Regions from separate parts of the Homo sapiens genome. Here all the other regions are linked to region 1. The links are contacts of gene promoters, found by promoter capture Hi-C in blood cells and fetal thymus (Javierre and others, 2016). All regions are on one chromosome and are shown on one strand. The core of a region is centred on a gene start or on the middle of the fragment in contact, and the rest is flanking DNA. Distances in the headings are between cores, read along the strand shown. Region 1 holds the start of SERGEF (secretion regulating guanine nucleotide exchange factor). Region 2 overlaps PTPN5 (protein tyrosine phosphatase non-receptor type 5). Region 3 holds the start of TSG101 (tumor susceptibility 101).

Region 1 (3,222 bases), core at 433-2,932:
CTCACGCACACAGAAAAGGCCATGTGAGGACACAGTGAAAAAAGCCATGTGAGGACACAGTGAGAAGGCGGCCATCTGCAAGCCAGAGAGAGGCCTCGGGAGAAACCAAACCTACTCACACCTTGATCTTGGCCTTCTAGCCTCTGGAACTGTGAGAAAATAAATTTCTGTTGTTTAAGCCTCTGTTGTGTGGTATTTTGTTATGGTAGCCCTAGCCGACCAACACACCCCCACAGTTTCAGATTATACAGCAGGAAAAACACACTACCAGTCCTCCAAACACAGCAGAAGGGTGTCAACAACCTATTAAACATATTTTACAACCTTTAATATTCGGCTTTGTCTGTACTGAAACAATATTTCTGTTTCCTCTGTCCACACAGACGCCAGTCTCCTGCCTGGAAAAAGCCAGAGACAGCACACATTCAATCCCCAACTCCACCCCCAGCTCCCGGGCCACCTCAAAGACGCCCAGCCAGCCAGACTACCGCAGGTCACGCCATGCTCTCCCTCCTGCCAAATTGCAGCCCCACATTCAACAATTGCCGCCTTGTACTGATCATTACTTCTTTAAAAATTGGACAACTAATACTGATTTTAACAGCAATACAGGTTATAATTTTGCTCTCCCCCAACACAAGAGCTGGAAGTCCTTCACTCGTGTATTTCACTCATGTGTATTTCCCCAACACCAGCACATGGGTAGGCACACAGATGCTCGTTCATTCATTCGTCAACGAGTATTTACTGGGGACCTACAATGTGCCAGACACCAAGAGAGGCACCGTGAACAAGACAGGCACAGCACCCACTCTTACCACACTTACTTTCCAGCCAGAGAGACTGACGTTAATAATAAATTATACACATCATTACAATTGTGATACGTGCTATGAAGAAGCACAAGACGCAGCGACTGCTTGTTCCCGTGCATGCTGGTCGGCCACCTGCCACGCTCCTGTGCATGAACCCTCCTCTCTCCCAGACACACATCAAGATGACCCTGTCTCTCCCAATGCTCCCGTCAAACCAACAGCAGCCCAACTCCCCCAACACATGCAAGAACCGGTCACAGCAGAGTGTCAGCAAATAGGCAGGGTCTGTGCCTTGTGCGCGGCCAAACACCGCAGGCCTCACATCTAAAGGATGCTTTCGCCAGGCTGGGACAGGGTCTCCCTCCTCCAGGCATCAGGAGTGTGGGGGGCACAGGTGGCCCCACGGAGCTCTGGGACCGGGCGATCCTCTCCACCGAGCCCTCCGCGCTGTCTTCCAGGCGCTATTCGGGCTGGAGGGCTCTCGCGGAACCAGACGCTCTGCCCCGAGGCAGGTTCTTCCCGCGGCGCCACAGCCCCTCCGGCCCTGACCCCGCCAGCCGGCAGGCCCCTAAGTCGACCGCGAAGACCCTTCCTTCCCCGCCCGCCCGCTCCTCCTCCGCTCCCCCTCCGCTCCCAGCCCAGGATCCTTCAACCCAGAGCCCGGCTCGGACCTCAGCCGCCCAGCCCCTGAACTGCCCACGCCGCGGCCAGCAGCTCCCACATCTCGGCGCCCCTCAGGGCCTGCACCGGCCCGGGGGCGGAGTCACGTACCCAGGCGAAGAGCGCGGCCGCCGCGGGGGCGGCCTCCGAGGCGCTGGGCTCGCGCTCCATGCGAGGACGCTCCGCCGGCGCTTCCGGGAGGGACGGCACGGGGGCGGCGCCTGCCGGGGGTAGGTGAGCGCCGGAGCCGGACCGGGGACGCGTGATGGGTAGGGCGCGGGGCGGGGTCTGTGGTGGGAAGCGGCCCGCAGGCCGGGAGAGAGGGTGCGGCCGGGCCCTCGGGCCACTGGGGATCAGTGGTGGGCGGGGCCGGACGACAGCCCCGGAGCCGCCTCCCAGTCAGCCCGCCCCGGCGGCGCTCGCAGCGTCTCCGCCCGCAGCCTCCTGTCTCGCTGGGCCTCTCAGCCTCTCGCTCCTACCCCCTCGTACTCTTTATTTTTAGTCATAATTTCATGTTTCATGCAGGTGCACTGCGCGCCACAGTTCACAAAGCTCCTTCGCGTTTTTGTCTCCTTGGAGGCCCACGACAGCCCAGAGGGGCTGACAGGGCAGCGATGGCATCACCATTTGCGGGAACAGGAAATGGAGCCTGAGGGGTAGGGCAGGGTCCTGCCCGGCGTCTCAGGCGCAATTGTCTTGAGCCCGCTTTGGTGTGCGTTCGCAAACATCTGAGGGGGCGCCTTGGGAGGCGAGTGGAGTGGCACGTCGCCGGTGTCGCCCTCTGCACCTGGCACGGAGCGGGAACCCGCGCCTCGCGACGCTGAATGGGGGAGGCTGGTTAGCGTCGACTCCTGCCGGGGCAGCCTCGGCGCTCCGGGCACGGCCCTGAGCTCATTCTATTAATAATACTGGATAATCGTCACCCAACGAACATTTCCATATAAAATGGCTTTTCTCAGACAGCGTCGTGTTGCTGATGGGAGTTAATTAAGTTCAATTTATCTGAAGGAAAATATGGCACCGCGTACCGGGAATACAGAACACATAGGGTCACATTAAAGATGATCATCCACATTCACATTCGGTAGCACTTGGCCCCTCTGCTGACACGGGCCTCCAGCACTCACTGCCCTTCACCCCTGGGCTTCTGGGAAGTGTCTCCAATGAGCTCTTACACTGTCCTTTCCTGTTCTTTCACTCCATCCACTTTTAGGAGTTTCTGCCTGTAAGACCACTTGAGGGCAGCCCCTCACCTTTATCTCTCCAACCTGTGGCATCTGGAGAACGTCGATGACCATACCAAGAAAAAAGCAAACTTTGGAGAGATAAAACAGCTCTTCATTCTCTAGGGATCTGAATGTGCAGGAGCTATACCATGCTTACTGACTGTCTTATGAGTGGGCTTTTTTGTGCTGACCATTTCTTTGAAGCATGTGTAACAGGATGTAAAAATGGGATCCTTCACCGCTCAGTTTTGGCTGAGCAACAAGTGCCAGTTACTCCTATATCATAAAGTAAGGTTCAAGACCACCAAAGCAGGTCTTGCAAAGCAACTGTCTAGAAACCAGTGTATGACTTTCAGTCTACGAAAAAGGTTGAGAGGCCAGAGAGAATTCTAGTAGGATATGTGGCCACAATTATCAATGTGGTGTGGGTCTCAACCCATCTCAGGTCTAAGGAAAGTTACTTTACCTGGGTCCCTGAGAGAGCTTGGTATGCATCCCTCTAGATTTAGGACCCAGACAGG
Region 2 (3,222 bases), core at 436-2,935, 740 kb after region 1:
CCCTTACATCCTTCACTTTTTTTTTTTTTTTTTTTTGAGACAGATTCTCACTCCGTCACCCAAGCTGGAGTGCAGTGGCATGATCTCTGCTCACTGTAACCTCTGCTTCCCGGGTTCAAGTGATTCTTGTGCCTTAGCCTCCTGAGTAGCTGGGATTACAGGCACAAGCCATCATGCCTGGCTAGTTTTTGTATTTTCAGTAGAGACAGGGTTTTACCATGTTGGCCAGGCTGGTCTTGAACTCCTGACCTCATGTGACCCACCCGTCTCAGCCTCCCAAAATGCTGGGATTATAGGCTGAGCCACTGCACCCAGCCCATCCTTCAGGTTTTAACCACTTGGAATTAAAAAGAAACAGCACCGGCCGGGCGCGGTGGCTCACGCCTGTAATCCCAGCACTTTGGGAGGCCGAGGCGGGCGGATCATGAGGTCAGGAGATCGAGACCACCCCGGCTAACACGGTGAAACCCCGTCTCTACTAAAAATAAAAAAAAAATTAGCCGGGTTTGGTGGCGTATGCCTGTAATCCCAGCTACTCGGGAGGCTGAGGCAGGAGAATTGCTTAAACCCGGGAGGTGGAGGCTGCAGTGAGCCAAGATCGTGCCACTGCACTCCAGCCTGAGTGACAGAGCAAGACTCCATCAAAAAAAAAAAAAAACCAAAAAACAAAAACAAAACAAAAAGAAACAGCACCAAGGTCCTAATAAACATCCCCACCTGTCCCACACATCATTTTCATATGTGTGTGTGTGAAATTCCAAAGTTTAGAGATGTAAAGTGATTCATGCAAGATCCAAGCTCAAAAAGGGCGGAGTCCAAATTCATTCACATCCAGGGCTTCTGAATCCGACAATAAGAAACCATAAAAAAATGAGCTGTGAATAAGACTTTATGGTTTACAAATCCCCATTCCCATCCATTGTCTCACTGAATTCTTATAACTACCATGAAAAAAATTGCTTTTCTCATTTCACAGTGGAAATGCCTCATGGGAGGGATGGAGCAGTGCAGGGTTTGTCCAAGCCCATCAGTGAAAGGCAATGCCCAATACAAGGGCAGACACACTCAGCACTGTCTTTACACCCAGGAAAATGTCCCTCATCCTGATCTCACACTTTGAAGGGCCCTGCTCCAATCCTCCATCAGGTATGCTCCTCCTCACAGGTAAGGAGTCCAGGGAACCAAAGGGACATTCTCCCTGTAAGGCCACATATTCAAAACCCCAGATTCCCTGGTCAAATGCTCCTCAGCCTGATTCCTGGACCTGGTGGCCCTCTTTTTTGACTGCTTCATGAGAGTACACTGTGCTGTGTGTATTCCTAGAACTGGCTAAGGTGACTGTTTGCAGAAGGTGTGTTTGGAGCTCAGATGTGTGGGCTGGGGTACCCATCTACCCAAGTGCTCATGAGTGTCCTTGTGGTGCTGGACAGAGCAGGGGTGGACTGGAGACTGGCTTTCCCTAGACCCCATATTTTGGTGCAGAACTCAGAATTCTCTATTTGAACCTGGCTTTTAAACTCCCTACAAATGAATATTCGTCAGAGTGGAAGGACAACATATTTCCTTTCAAAGCTTATCAGCTTGCTTTCGAACAGTTAGCTATCTAGACATAACATATACAGCCTTACAAATGTTAGGGGTGGGACTGCACACAGCTGTGCTCTTTGAAGTAGCAGGGAGGAGAGCCAAAGAAAAGAGAAGAGCAAAAGAGCCGAAGATTTAAGCAACAAAGGGTCAGTAGCTCAAATAGTGGAAGGTTGGGGAAAAGAATGAGACATGGGATGAAGGCCAAGGGGAGGAAGCTTTAGGAGAGGATGAAGCTAGTGTTAGGAGGAATGTGAAAGCTTATAAAGAGGATGTGCTGGTGGATGAAGGATGGCCACAGATTCTCTGCACTCCTCCTATCAAGAGGTGGCATTTACTTCCCATCCCTTGGATCTAGGCTGACCCTGTGACTGGCTTTGATCAACAAAATGTAGTGGAGTGACATTGTGTAACTTCTGGAGCTGGGCCTTAAGAGATCTGAAGCTTCTTTTTTGCCCCTCTTAGAGTGCTCCTTCTTGGTAATCACATAAGAAGTCCAACTACCATGAGACCATCATGCTGTGAGGAAGCCCAAGGTAGGAGCACTGAGGTGCCAGACATATAATAAAAGCTTTCTCCGACATTCTATCCCAGCACAGAATGAGGTGTGTTCAGCTGAATGAGTGACCTCAGCTGATGCCACATGGAATGGAAGAATCACCCAGCTAAACCCTGCATGACCCTCCAAGTCATGAGCAAATAAAATGGTTGTTGTTTGAAGCCACTAAGTGTTGAGATCGTCAGGCAGCAACAGACAACCAAAACAGATGCTGAGATCTGAAATGAAGAAATGAGCTTCAATGGAAGGATGAGTTTTTTTTTTTTTTCTTCAGATATAAAGAATTCCTGAGAGCTGGGGTGATTTGTCCCTGAGCCAGACCAAAGAGAAAGGTAATGGCATCTGTCACTGCATATGTTAGGAGTACGATGGATGTCCATTTGTCTAAAAGGGCATTGGCATCAACCTTTGAAGATGCAGGGGACTGGACCAGATGCATTCCTTCTTTCAGTTGCAAAGACTCTCTTTAAGTGTCATCACACATCCAGGCAACTCCCTAGAATATGAGAACTGTTTCTATCCTGGTGAAGGAAAACGGAGGATCATTCTCCCCACCAACCCTGGCCCCTTAAATATGTAAGCATAAAACACTCCTGCCTGTGGCTGTGCTGGTTCAGTGAGGTCTCAGACCTGTGGTGGGGAGTCAAGAAAGGACCACCAGATACACTACCCCACTCCACTGCTGTAGAACTGGCCTGGACCTGACGCCCGAGCCCCAGGCACAGGAACACAAAGAAAGAAAAAACACAAAGGAAAAAAAGGTTTTTTTTCTGTTCACATTCCATATCCTGGAACAACCATCACCGTCACTATTAGCTATCATTTATAGAGCACTCTGTAATAAGCACTTTACGTCCATGAACTCAATTAATCCTCACAAAATCTCTGTGAAGATGTCATCATATTACTACCCTTATTCTAGAGTGAGGAATTTGGAACTCACAGCAGTTAGATAATTTACCACAGGTCATGCTGTTGGTCAATAGCAGAGCTGGGATTTGAACCCAGCTGCCTGGCCATAGCACCCCAAGGCCTAGCTAGATGGGCTCCATCCTGGTGTCTGAGAATAGTTAGCCTCT
Region 3 (3,222 bases), core at 227-2,726, 510 kb after region 1:
AACCTGGGAGGCGGAGATTGCAGTGAGCCAAGATCGTGCCACTGCACTCCAGCCTGGGTGACAGAGCAAGACTCTAAAAAAAAAAAAAAAAAAAAAAGAGTCATGGAACAGATACTCTTCAGTTACATACTATGTAAAACAATATACCGTTTTTTTCAAAAAGTGATATATAAAAGTTACAACATGGATCTTTACCTGGGTCACAATCTTCTATGGCTTCCCATATGTCTTCTATAACTAAGGATAACAAGTTTATCAAAACAAAACCAAGAAGCCTAAAATATACGATTACACAACCAATATATGCTTTATTTTGAAAGCTGTCATTTTCTCCTTAGAGATTATTTGGTCTTCAATCAAGAACTATGGGGGCGATTTAACTGGAAAAAGTCTGTTTTTAAAAAAGTTTTACACATAATAGTGTGTTTTATTAAAAATTGAAACCGCTTAAACCGCTGATTGCTACCATTCTTGCTTTGACAAAACTATCCCAAGCTAACACGTTGAACTGGTCAAGACTCAACTCTCAATCATTTTACATAGTTTTGGAAAATTACAACAAAACATAACAAAAGCCATTCCACTCTGGTGTGAGGTGCCACGTTTGAAGTAATTATATAAATAAATCATGGCTTTAAAATACAAAATGCTTAACTGCTTTTTTAAAAATTGAAAAAAAAAACACTAGTCTTGAGCCGTGAAGATCATAAATTAAGCTCAAAGCAAATAAATACGCGTTATAAGAAGCATACACTTAAAAGTAGTTACTCTTAGAAAATCCCTGAAATGGTAATGGTATGTATTTCACCTGGGGCAGTAAGGGACTGGTATTTTCGCTTCTTTTCTGGAGAATACAAAACTGAAAAGGCCACACTCTCTGCGGGTCGGCAAAAGAAAGGCTAAGACTGGAGGATCCCTAGATTGGGACAGGAGTAGAGGATTGCCTCAGATCTACAACTAAGTATGATCCCTTGTTTGTGTTTATAAAAACAAACGAAAAACTACACTGCCCCACAGACAGCTCCAAACTCAGTGGAAGAGAGGAGGGCGGGTGGGCGGCAGGTGTCAGGTAGCCTCCGCTCCACGCCTTTGTTGACTGTCGCCGTCCCCCACCCTCCCAGCTCCCGTACGGGGATTCCCGCACCAGGCGACAGGCGCCTCGGGGCGGGGTTCTGAGGAGGTCGCTAAGGACTGCACCGGGGCTTCCGGCCCGTCTGGGAAGCTTGCTTGGCTGGGCCGGGACGGACTCGACAGGGCGCGGAAGGGAGCGGTGGGCGCGCCCTGGGAGGCGAGCGCGTCGCAGCCTCACCTTGGACACCATTTTCTTGAGCTGGCTCTCCGACACCGCCATGACGGCCGCCTGGCGACTCCCTTCCCCGCAGGCAGAGGGTCAGCCGCTGCTGGGCTGCCCCAGACCGTCCCACACAATCGCACACCCCCAACCCGGCCTCAAACAACAGGAAGTCGGCACCACTACACCACTTCCGCTTCCACTACGTCACTTCCGGGCCGCCGTCCTGCGGGCAAGGGTGGACACCGTGTGGGATTGAGAGGGGCCTGGTGGGGTGGGTTCCAACCAACCCGCCCCTCGAGTGCCGGAATCAGCAGGACGAATCGGGTCCCAAAGATGTGGGCAAGACTGTTCCGAGGGTCGAAACTCTGGTTCAGGATAAGATTAGCAGGTATTTCACAGAGTCGACTTAAGGAAGCTAGTGCCGGAGAGGGAAGAAGTACGAAGGGCTTGCCAGTGAGCCTTAATGACTGATTGATCAAGTGGGAGGGCACTGCACTGGCGGTCAGAGAACTGTTCTGTCACTGACTTGCTCTTGTGATAATGGTAGGCTAGTGCATTTCTAGCTCAGGCGCAAATTTCTCCCGACTCTAAAGTCATACACTTGCCTTAGATGATGCCCAGTGGTCCTCTAATTAATGATTTTTTTTAAGCTTAAAGACCTTCATACTATACGTTGGCAAGGGTAAAGTGTAGAGCCTTTGTTTCACAAGAAGCCAGATAGTAATTTCTTCTCCAGGAAATCATTCCGTAAGTCAGAATTTCTCCTCTGTACCCACCCATAAATGATAATACAGGCCGTATTTTACCTGGTGCTGTATTTGTGTACCTGTCCGCTGTCAAAATCCAAGCCCTTGAAGGCAGGCTTCCTTCAGATCTTCATTGCCTTGCACAATGCAAGGGTAGGTACTTCCATCTTAATTGAATTTTTACTTCCCATAAAAATTCTTCATGGTGACTTACATTAGTCATCATTACACATCACCGTCAGTTTTGTAAGCACAGTGTCATTCAAGGTATTGTAAAATTTTGAGTTTGATGATGTGTGACAGTTTCAATTATTTTAGTACAGCCCTAATGAGAACAAGGCCGTAGTATTGATTCCCTTCAAAGTTGGCGTCTAAGTGAAGGTCACATTCACAAGGAGGGCCTAACTGAAAGCATGTGGAAGCATCATTATAAACTGTTGCTAACACGCACAAATAAAGGCTATTAATAGGTATTGTTTTTCTTTTTCTTTTTCTTTTTTTTTTTTTTTTGAGTCACTCTCACTCCATCGCCCAGGCTGGAGTGCAGTAGCACCATCTCGGCTCACTGCAACCTCCGCCTCTGTTTTTCAGCTCCTTAGTTAAGCATACAGCTCCAGTCAAACCAAACTAGAGGTCTGTCTGTCCTTCCATTTTACTTGCTGTTTTATGTCTTTTAAAAGCAAGAAGGTTTTCAAACTGTTCTTAAAGCCACGGCTTAACCAGGAGTCCCTTTAATTAGAGCAACTGTACCTTTGTGAGTTGGAGGAATGCCAGGTAATATATATTATTTATATATTTTATAAATGCAACATTTATAAATATTAAAATAAATTTTACATATATATATATATATATATATATATATATATATATTTTTTTTTTTTTTTTTTTTTTTTTTTTTTGAGACAGAGTTTTGCTCTTGCTTCCCAGGCTGGAGTGCGATAGTGTGATCTTGGCTCACTGCAACCTCTGCCTCCCGGGTTCAAGCGATTCTCCTGCCTAAGCCTCCCGAGTAGCTGGGATTACAGGTGCCCACCACCACACCCAGCTAATTTTTTGTATTTTTAGTAGAGACAGGATTTCACTATGTTGGCCAGGCTGGTCTGGAACTCTTGACCTCAGGTGATCCACCCGCCTCAGCCTGCCAGAATGTTGGGATTACAGGCGTAAGCCACTGCGCCC

What was found. The method cuts DNA at HindIII sites, captures the fragments that hold promoters and counts their contacts. A CHiCAGO score of 5 or more calls a contact.
Region 2: a contact is called between a fragment that was not itself captured here and the fragment with the promoter of SERGEF in region 1, in 3 of 17 cell types (total CD4 T cells, total CD8 T cells and naive CD4 T cells). The highest score is 6.4, in total CD4 T cells.
Region 3: the fragment with the promoter of TSG101 here is called in contact with the fragment with the promoter of SERGEF in region 1 in 8 of 17 cell types (total B cells, naive CD4 T cells, total CD4 T cells and 5 more); the score reaches 15.8 in total B cells.

Annotation. Positions count from the first base shown.
Region 1 is chr11:18,011,365-18,014,586 of GRCh38, forward strand. It overlaps SERGEF (secretion regulating guanine nucleotide exchange factor), which reads right to left and starts at 1,683. Exons shown (of 11, transcript NM_012139.4): 1 at 1,587-1,683. The coding sequence starts at 1,646. RefSeq lists enhancers at 1-475, 476-992, 2,351-2,400 and a silencer at 1,351-1,970. The HindIII fragment of the contact is 12,002 bases long and covers 1-3,222 here.
Region 2 is chr11:18,756,279-18,759,500 of GRCh38, forward strand. The region is part of intron 3 of PTPN5 (protein tyrosine phosphatase non-receptor type 5); the gene reads right to left. Among named protein-coding and RNA genes, the nearest start is that of IGSF22, 32 kb to the left of the region's middle. The HindIII fragment of the contact is 230 bases long and covers 1,571-1,800 here.
Region 3 is chr11:18,525,466-18,528,687 of GRCh38, forward strand. It overlaps TSG101 (tumor susceptibility 101), which reads right to left and starts at 1,477. Exons shown (of 10, transcript NM_006292.4): 1 at 1,310-1,477. The coding sequence starts at 1,351. RefSeq lists an enhancer at 1,637-1,746. The HindIII fragment of the contact is 722 bases long and covers 1,221-1,942 here.